2 separate regions of the Homo sapiens genome follow, and region 1 is linked to region 2. The links are contacts of gene promoters, found by promoter capture Hi-C in blood cells and fetal thymus (Javierre and others, 2016). All regions are on one chromosome and are shown on one strand. The core of a region is centred on a gene start or on the middle of the fragment in contact, and the rest is flanking DNA. Distances in the headings are between cores, read along the strand shown.

Region 1 (6,376 bases), core at 467-2,966, 150 kb before region 2:
GGCTGCCCTCCTCTCACTCCTTAAGTGCCTGTTCTGCACAAGTATTTAAAGTTCCAAGGTACAATGCCAAAACTAAGACCAAGATGAGTTACAGATGGTGCTGGATGCTTCCTTCCCTCCCAGATGTCAAAACTGCTTAATTTTTTTCTGCTCGCTTGAGGGCAAAGCATGAGAAGTAATGAGTTTTTGGCCAAGCCTGTGACAGAGTCCATGACCCACCTGGCTGGGGCCTCGGACCTGGCGAGCCTGTTTCTCCTGATCCCGCAACCACTGCAGGTAGGATTCCCGAGCCACCTGCTCCTCGATGGCTTCATTTGTGGCCTCCCAGTCTGTGGCCCGTTTCTTGTCTTCTAGCATCTGCTGTTCAATCCATGACTCCTCCGATGTTTTTATGGCATTCTTCATCAGAGACTGCTCTGCAAACTGCAAGGAGGGAGAGGAACAGGGATGTGCAATAACACACTGAACCTGCCCAAGAGCCAGAACAGGCTCAGCGAGGTAGGCCCACAGGCCCCAGAAAAAAAAGGAGACAGGAAAGCAGGTACTCCCAAAGAGCAACACTCCACAGACTACCTCTTGATTGGGGACCAAGGGAAAGCAGGCTTGGGATGTGGGACCTGTCATTCCAAACTCCTATGCTTGTAAGACCTGACTCTAACCCCCAAACCACCTCAACTGAGGCACTGAGACTGGAGCAGTCAGGTGCCTTCCAACCTGGGACTTATTTTTTTTTTTTTTTCTGAGACGAAGTATCGCTCTGTCGCCCAGGCTGGAGTGCAGTGGGGTAATCTCGGCTCACTGCAACCTCCGCCTCCCAGGTTCAAGGGATTCTCCAGCCTCAGCCTCCCAAGTAGCTGGGATTACAGGTGAGTGCCACCACCCCCGGCTAACTTTTTTGTATTTTTAGTAGAAATGGGGTTTCACCATGTTGGCCAGGCTGGCCTTGAACTCCTGACCTCAGGTGATCCACCCGACTCGGCCTCCCAAAGTGCTGGGATTATAGGTGTGAGCCACTGCACCTGGCCCTGGGCCTTAATTTAAAGAAGCCCCATCCAGTGATGACTGTTTCATAATGTTGAGGACTTTCACACACATGAGCAGATGAGACACATACAAAAATTAGCTATGTGTGCACCGGGTGGAGGGAGTATTCAAGCATGTGAGGGGTTGGGGGAAGTAGTGGGTGTGTGAGGGAATAAGGGGGCAGTATCAACATGGTGTGGGGTGCTATGAGTTACAGGACACTACATCAGAGTACTGTTTTTCAGGCTGAGATCCAACAGCATTTTTAAAAAATAGAAAATATCAGAATATATCCCAGGGAATAAGTGCAAATGTTGTTTCATGAAGCTTTAGTTAACATTATTTTAATGCACATATACACATCACACACAAATGCATATATGCTAAGTAATCATGTAAAATGTATTCTTTTCTTTTTCCTGCAGACCTTGCATTCAGATAAAATGTAATTTTTTACTGTGAATAGTTAAAAACAATTCGTAAAACTATGTTAGAACAAGCCAATTAAAAAAATAGTCAAAAAATCTAACCACTCTGGCAGTGTTAAACACACTCCAAGTGTTTTTTCTACTCTCACTCAACAACAATCAACACAGGAGACTTCTGTGACCAAGTGTGCGGGCTGGGGGGAGGGTGTTTTCCCACACAGCAAGCAGCGGACACCTGGTGTCCATCCTCCAATGCAATTCAATACCCAGAGACAGCCTGGGATCCCACAGGTTGAGGGCTCAGTCCCACAAGACTCCCCCCAACCCCCTTCGAACACCAGTCGAAAGTCTGGGCCTCCAGAATTTCTGACTGACCAGCTATAAATTGGGATTCCCACAATACTTTTTTGGGGGTTCAACTAACTTGCTAGAGCAGCTCACAAAACCCAGGAAACACGTCTGCCAGTTTATTATAGAGAAAATTACAAAGGATACAGATGAGATGCACAGAGTGAGATATGGGGGAAGGGACGTGGAGCTTCCATGCCCTCCCTGGGGTGCCACCCTCTAGAAACTTCCATGTATTCAGCTACCCAAAAGCTCCCAGAACCCAATCCTTTTGGGATTCTTTGGAAGCTTCATTATGCAGGCATTATTGATTATGCCATTGGACACTAGTGATCAACCTAATCTTCAGCCTCTCTCCCCTCCCCAAAGGCTGGGGGATGGGCTTAAAGTTGCAAACCTCTAATCCTGCCTTGGTCTTTCAGGTCACCAGCCCCCATCCTGAAGCTACCTAGAGGCTGCCAGCCATCAGTCACCTCATTAGCATACAAAAAGGCAACACTTTGCAGATTCTAAGGATTTTAGGAATTGTATGTCAGGAAGTCACAAACACAATTCACCAAAGAAGCTATACAGATGGCAAATAAGCATATGAAAAGATGCTCAACAGCATTTGCCAATAGGCAACTGCAAGTTAAAATAATGAGATACCACTACACACCTAAGAGAATGGCTAAAATCCAACACAATGACAGTATCAATTGCTGGTAATGCTGACAACAGGAACTTCCAAATCATTATGGTGGGCATGCAAATAATACAGCCACTTGGGAAGACAGTTTCTCAGTTCCTCATAAATCAAAACATAATCTTACAACGCAATCCAGCAATCTTGCTCCCAGGTATGTATACAACTGATCTAAAAAATTACGTCCACAAAAAAACCTGCATGCACATTACAGAAGCTTTATTCATAATCATCAAAAACTGGAAGCAACCAAGAATGTCTTTTAATAGGTGAATAATTAAACTGGTACCTCCATAAAAGGAACATTAAGTGATAAGAAAGAAACCAGCTAACAAGCCATGAAAGAACATGGAGAAACCTTAATGCATACTGCTAAGTGAAAAGAAGCAGTCTGTCACATTGACCATTTTAATTTCAGGGGGGAAAAAAGCAAATTGGCTGCAGGTGGCTCACCCCTGCAATACCAGCACTTTGAGAGGCCAAGGCGGGAGGATCACTTGTCCCCAGGAATTTGAGATTGGCCTGAGCAACACAGTGAGATCCTGTCTCTACAAAATAAAAATATTTTTAAAGTTAGCCAGGCATGGTGGTGTGTGCCTGTGGTCCCAGCTACTTGGGAGGCTGAGGTGGGAGGATTGCTTAAACCCAGGAGGTAAAGGCTGCAGTGATATTGTGCCACTGCACTCCAGCCTGGGCAACAGTGATACACTGTCTCAAAAAAAAAAAAAAAAAACAGTATGAAAAGGCTACATACTGTATGATTACAATTATATGACATTCTGAAAAAGGCAACCCACAAAGACAATAGTGTTTGCAGGAAGAGGGAGGAAGGGAGGGGTAAGCATATGGAGTATGAGGAATTTTAAGGGTGGTCAAACTATTCTGAATAATACTGTAATAGTAGATACATAACATTACACATTTGTCAAAACCCATAGAATGTACAACACAAAGAGTGGACCTTAATATATGCTATTTAAAAAAAAATTAGGAAGGCTGGGCACGGTGGCTCATGCCTGTAATTCCAGCACTTTGGGAGGCCAAGGTGGGTGGATCTCCTGAGGTCAGGAGTTCGAGACCAGCCTGGCCAATATGGTGAAACCTGTCTCTACTAAAAATCAAAAAAATTAGCTGGGCGTGGTGGCGCGTGCCTGTAATCCCAGCTACTCGGGAGGCAGAGGCAAGAGAATCACTTGAACCACGGAGGCTGAGGTTGCAGTGAGCCGAGATCGCACCACTGTACTCCAGCCTGGGTGACAGAGCAAGACTCTGTCTCAAAAAATAAATAAATAAATAAAATAAAATAAAATAAAAATTAGGAGATCTATGGCCAGCGCGGTGGCTCATGCCTGTAATCCCAGCACTTTGGGAGGCCGAGGCAGGCAGATCACCTGAAGTCAGGAGTTCGAGACCAGCCTGGGCAACATGATGAAACCCCGTCTCTACTAAAAATACAAAAATTAGCCAGGTGTGGTAGTGCATGCCTGTAATTCCAGCTACTCGGGAGGCTGAGGCACGAGAATTGCTTGAACCCAGGAGGTAGAGGCTGCGGTGAGTTGAGATCATCGCACCACTGCACTCCAGCCTGGGCGACAGTGAGACTCTGTCTCAAAAATAAATAAATAAAAAATTAGGAGATCTGAGATCCCAGCATAGAATGCAAAAATGTGACAAAATAATACAAATGTATTACAAACATGAAACAACCTTGGCCGGGCGCGGTGGCTCACGCCTGTAATCCCAGCACTTTGGGAGGCCGAGGCGGGCGGATCACGAGGTCAGGAGATTGAGACCATCCTGGCTAAGACGGTGAAACCCCGTCTCTTACTAAAAATACAAAAAATTAGCCAGGTGTGGTGGCAGGCACCTGTAGTACCAGCTTCTCGGGAGGCTGAGGCAGGAGAATGGTGTGAACCTGGGAGGTGGAGCTTGCTGTGAGCCGAGATCACGCCACTGCACTCCAGCCTGGGCGACAGAGCGAGACTCTGTCTCAAAAAATAATAATAATAAAATAAAATAAAAATAAACACCCTCATTTGAAGGGGGTGGGGGTACAAGTAGGTCACTTTCAAAATGAATGGAGTCTGTAACACCAAAGGCAAAAAAGAACTATATGTAGCATTGAGCTATAGTGATAAAGTTGTTTCCCACGGGGGTACGGGTGAACAAGTGTGATTCTGCTACGCGTGTATATGGAAATGAGCAGTTACATAAATGGATGGTAGGAACCAGTGCATATACATCTGATGGCGTATCTACTGTTGGAGAGGGAATTTGCAGATGAACAAGGGGAGAAGGCTAGAATGAAGCATGTGATAATGGATCTGAGTTGGAGACATCAGTAAGGATTCATGTTTAATATAAATACAGATGGTTACAGGTAGAAATATTTATAGATATGTGTACAAAGGCCACTATACATACATGTAGCTCCTTGCTCTATCAGCTGACAGGGCCTAGAAGCATGGACAACCTGATATCGAAGAGCACATTCAACACCTAGGTCTTGATTTCTGTTAACAGTCTCCAATACATGCCAGGGCTCTCTAAAGAAATGGCTGATTGAGCTGGGCGCAGTAGCTCACACCTGTAATCCCTGCACTTTGGGAGACCGAGGAGGGTGGATCACCTGAGGTCAGGAGTTCGAGACTTCAGCCTGCCCAACATGGTGAAACCCCATCTCTACTAAACAATACAAAAAACAGCTGGGTGTGGTGGCGCATGCCTGTAATCCCAGCTACTCGGGAGGCTGAGGCAGGAGAATCGCTTGAACCTGGGAGGCAGAGGTTGCAGTGAGCTGAGATGGCGCCCTTACACTCCAGCCTGGGCAACAAGAGCGAAACTCCCTCTCAAAAAAAAAAAAAAGACCATATTGATGTACGTAATAACTGGAAAAATTAATAAATTAAGGATGAGTTAAGGATGAGACACAGATCCTCCTTAAAGATTTCCAAATAATCTATGTAGATACTCTACCCTCAAGGGGATGGGGCATAACCATTTCTTAGGCGTGGGCTGCACATAGTGACTTCCTTCCACACAGTACAGTATGGAAAAGGTGGGAAAGAGTAACCTTAGGTGGAGAAACCTAACAAACACTACTTCTGCCAGTTGATCAAGGGTAACACCAACAGGCATAAATGACACTCATAGTATAAACCCTTGAAATGATGTAATGACAATGGCACTTTACCTCTGTGATCTTCCTCCCTAAGACCCACAACCCTAGTTTAAACATGAGAAAAAGTCCAAAAGAGACATTTCCTACAAAATATTTGATCAGTACTCCTTAAAACTGTCAAGGTCATCAAAACAAAACTGAGAAACTATCAAAGATAAAGGGGCCTAAGGAGGCATGCAGATTTCATTTAATAGTAACGTATTAGGCTGGGCATGGTGGCTCACGCCTGTAATCCCAGCACTTTGGGAGGCCGAGGCGGGTGGATCACCTGAGGTCAGGAGTTTGAGACCAGCGTGGCCAACATGGTGAAACCCCGTCTCTACTAAAAATAGAAAAATTAGCCAGGTGTGGTGGTGGGCACCTGTAATCCCAGCTACTTGGGAGGCTGAGGCAGAAAAATCGCTTGAACCCAGAAGGCGGAGGCTGCAGTGAGCCGAGATCGCCTCATTGCACTCCAGCCTGGGTAACAGAGAGAAACTCTGCCTTAAAAAAAAAAAAAAAAAAAGTATTAATGTTGGTTCGCACATTGTAACAAATGTACCATAATGATTTGAACTGTTAATAACAGCAGAACTGGGCTGGGCGCGTTGGCTCACGCCTGTAATCCCAGCATTTTGGGAGGCCGAGATGGGTGGATCACCTGAGGTCAGGAGTTCGAGACCAGCCTTTGACATGGTGAAACCCCGTCTCTACTAAAAACACAAAAATTAG
Region 2 (3,162 bases), core at 663-3,162:
CGCAGGCAGGCCAATGGAGTGGTGAGCAGCCAGGACGCCTCAGATACTGAAAGCGTGGCCGAGTAATTGGCTTGGCAACGTGGGCATGGCCAGGGAAGACGCCCGGTAACGGGGACGTGGCCAGTGGAAGGCACTTAACACCAAGAGTGAGATAGGAAAGGCGATAATAAAAGGGGTGTTCCCAGAAGGGGGAACGAAGCCCGGGAAGGCGCTTTTAGCGGGGGCGTGGCGAGGCCCTCGGGTTTCCCAGCCCCCTCTCAACCCGGGGACCGGCAGGGCTGGCCTGGTGCCTTAAGCATGCTCTGGCTGCTTTCCTGGCTATCTCGGGGTAGTGGAGACTCACGAAGCACCGGCCCGGCGATGCTGAACAGGAAGGTGCAAGCGCCGCCCGCGACCCAGAGCACCAGGAGGCCGACGGCAAGCACTGCGGCCAGGCAGGCTGCAGGGTGGCTGCGGCGGCAGCGGCGCACAGCTGCGCGGGTCTCAGCTGCCCACACCAGCACGCCGAGGGCCACCGCCACTACCAGCGCGCTCAGGAGCGTATGAAGTGGCCGCACGTACCTGCGGGTACAAGGGAACCAAGCTAGCCGGCCGGGCGGAGAGACGGCCTCCGGACCACCACCCACCCTGGGCCCCAAGAGCCAGGGTCTCCCGTCTCCGGACACTCCAGCCTGGCACATCCTCCCACCAGCCCTATCTCCAGCAGGCCCATCTGCCAGGGCTCCCGACTCACCCTTGTAGACCCCTCCTTTCCTCCTTGTCAATTCCACTGTCCTGTCTTCCTCAGGTCCCCGCTTCAGGCCCTCCCATCCTGCTAGACACTCCCCACACCCCCGGGCTCCCAACACTTCCCTGGACTTTCCTTCCGACTCTGCCCCCGTAGGGCCCCTCATCAGCCTGCCCGCAAGCTCCCCCTTTAACACCAGCCCCTGCAAATCCCTCTTTCAGGCCTTCTGTCTTCACACGTTCCCCTCTCCCCAGGCCTAGGGTCCTTATAGAACCGCCCTCCAGGCTCCCATTTCCCTATAGATTCCTCCCTCCATCATTGCTAGGACCTCTTCCAGGTCGTCAGCCCCACTCTGAACTTTCAGCACTGCTCAAGTCCTTCCTCCAGATTCTCCATCCCTCTCTGGTCTCAGGCTTTCCAACCATGGATCCTCCTCCTGGGCCCAAGTTCCCCAACAGGTACCTGCCCCTGGCGCCTTCCAATCATAGCCAGGCTCCCCTCCAAGACCGGATCCCCAATAAATACATCTTCCAAACCCTCCAACTTTACCGTCTATTTCCCGGTCTCTGCCCTAAGTACTCCAGGGTCGGCCTCAATCTGGCCCCATCATTCACATCACACCCCCCCTACGCCCCTCAAGTACTCTCATGTCCCCCTTTCGGGCCCTCCTTTTTTTCCGGTTCACCTTCCAGCCCACTTTCCCCTTCAGTCCCACACTTGTCTCCATCCTCCCCATATCTTCCTTGCAGACCCCCATCCCCCGCAGGCCCTCCTCATCAGCCAGGCTCCATCTCCCTGAGGCCCTCCTTATAACTAGGCTCCACCTCCTTCAAGGCCCCCCTTCCAAGCCCCTCAGGCCGTCCATCTCTACTGACTTCGCCCTTCCCGGCCTTGCACCCCCCTCAGGTTCCCCGTCCTGGTCCTCAAAGACCTGTGGGTCTACCCCCACGCTCTGCAGACGTCCCTGGCCAACCGGCGCCTCCCTCCCTCACCCGGCGAGAGCGAGGCCGATGCCGAAGCAGAGAAGGTAGTTGGTTTGGTAGTAGAGGAGGTTGTTGATGACGCGGTGGCACCATCGCTGCGGGTCGCATGGATCCGGAGCCGCCAGACGCGCCGACCCCAGAACAAAGTCGTCCAGGGCGCGTAGCGGTGGCAGCCGCACCTCCGACATCCTGCCGGTTAATGTGGCTGGACCAGCCAGGAGGGGGCCGGACTACAACAACCGTTACGCCCCTCGCCACCGCGGGGCACACCGGGAAATGGAGTCTGGGCTGGGCAGCTTTTTCCTAACCTCCTAGGTGGATTGCGCAGGGGCGGCGATGCACGTGACCGGAAAAGCAACTAACACGCCGCTCAGGAAAGCAGCAAAGGCTGCCGGGAAATCAAGCCTTTGCCACGAAGCGAGATGCTCCCAACCCTTAAAACTGCCATCCACCCCCGCGCGGGGCGCCGCAGGGGCTGCTCCGGGCGGTGCCAGCGGCTCAAGCACAAAGTAGCCAGACAGATAAGAAAGGAGGGACTGTCACAAGGATCCGAGTTGGATTCCACCTCCTTCCTGTCAGCGCCCAAGAGGGTCACATTTCTCCAGGAAACTCCATGCCCCGCCCCTGAGGTCAAGCCGTAAATGCCATTAAGGGCCTTTTATTCGTATTCATCACATCGGAGATCATCTCTTCCTAGGAAGCTTTTAAAAAATCCCCAGGTTGGATTAGGGCACTCCCTCTGGGTCCCTGGCAATTTCCTCCAGGTTAGGGATCCCAAGGGGTCGCTGCCTTCCTGGGTCTCTGGCCTGGCCCTTGGGGCACACAGTCATCAAGAAGTGCTGGGGGGAAGTGAGCTCTTTATTTAGACATAGCTCTGCTGAGTGGAAAGTGGGCACCAGCCCCATTAATGCTTGCTGGCTGGTGGCTTCCAAGCACGCCCCACTGCCAAGGCTCAGCTCTGCAGTTCTGCCACTGCAGGTCCCTAGCACAGCCCCCAGGGTCCTTAAAAGTCATCATCATCACAGATGTCAAGGTACACGTCGAAAGCCTCTCTGTTGCAGTTTCCATCAGGAGTGAAGACATATTTGTGGAAGGTCCCATCTACGCAGATGGCTGGGGGAGGGGGGGTGGTAAAAGGTCAGAGGCTGCCACAGCCACAGGCTCCAGTCCTCTCAGGCATCTCAGGACCTAGGGTCTGCCTCCAGGCCTTTGCCCAGTGCTGTCCCCCTTACTGATGATGAAGCTGAGCCTCACATGGCCCTAAAATCCTTTCAGGTCCAACCTGCAGGCCTTTGCCCCATGCAGTACCCCCAACCAAGGGGCTGTTCCCACTCACCAATGACAGAGTTGACGTTCTTGGAAGTATTGCGACCGAAGGCGCAGATGCAAGCTGACTCAGCAGGCACAGTGAAGCTCGCCAGGCTCCACTGAGAGTCCACGTACTGCCCAATC

Evidence for each region. The method cuts DNA at HindIII sites, captures the fragments that hold promoters and counts their contacts. A CHiCAGO score of 5 or more calls a contact.
Region 1: a contact is called between a fragment that was not itself captured here and the fragment with the promoter of PRAF2 in region 2, in 1 of 17 cell types (total CD8 T cells). The highest score is 5.3, in total CD8 T cells.

Annotation. Positions count from the first base shown.
Region 1 is chrX:48,925,628-48,932,003 of GRCh38, forward strand. It overlaps OTUD5 (OTU deubiquitinase 5), which reads right to left. Exons shown (of 9, transcript NM_001136157.2): 6 at 220-423. Among named protein-coding and RNA genes, the nearest start is that of PIM2, 9.8 kb to the left of the region's middle. RefSeq lists an enhancer at 1,830-2,468. The HindIII fragment of the contact is 737 bases long and covers 1,349-2,085 here.
Region 2 is chrX:49,072,090-49,075,251 of GRCh38, forward strand. It overlaps PRAF2 (PRA1 domain family member 2), which reads right to left and starts at 1,913. Exons shown (of 3, transcript NM_007213.3): 1 at 1,720-1,913; 2 at 344-561. The coding sequence starts at 1,898. WDR45 (WD repeat domain 45) reads right to left here. Exons shown (of 11, transcript NM_001029896.2): 10 at 3,047-3,162; 11 at 2,353-2,823. The coding sequence ends at 2,714. RefSeq lists a silencer at 2,096-2,195. The HindIII fragment of the contact is 3,027 bases long and covers 1-2,409 here.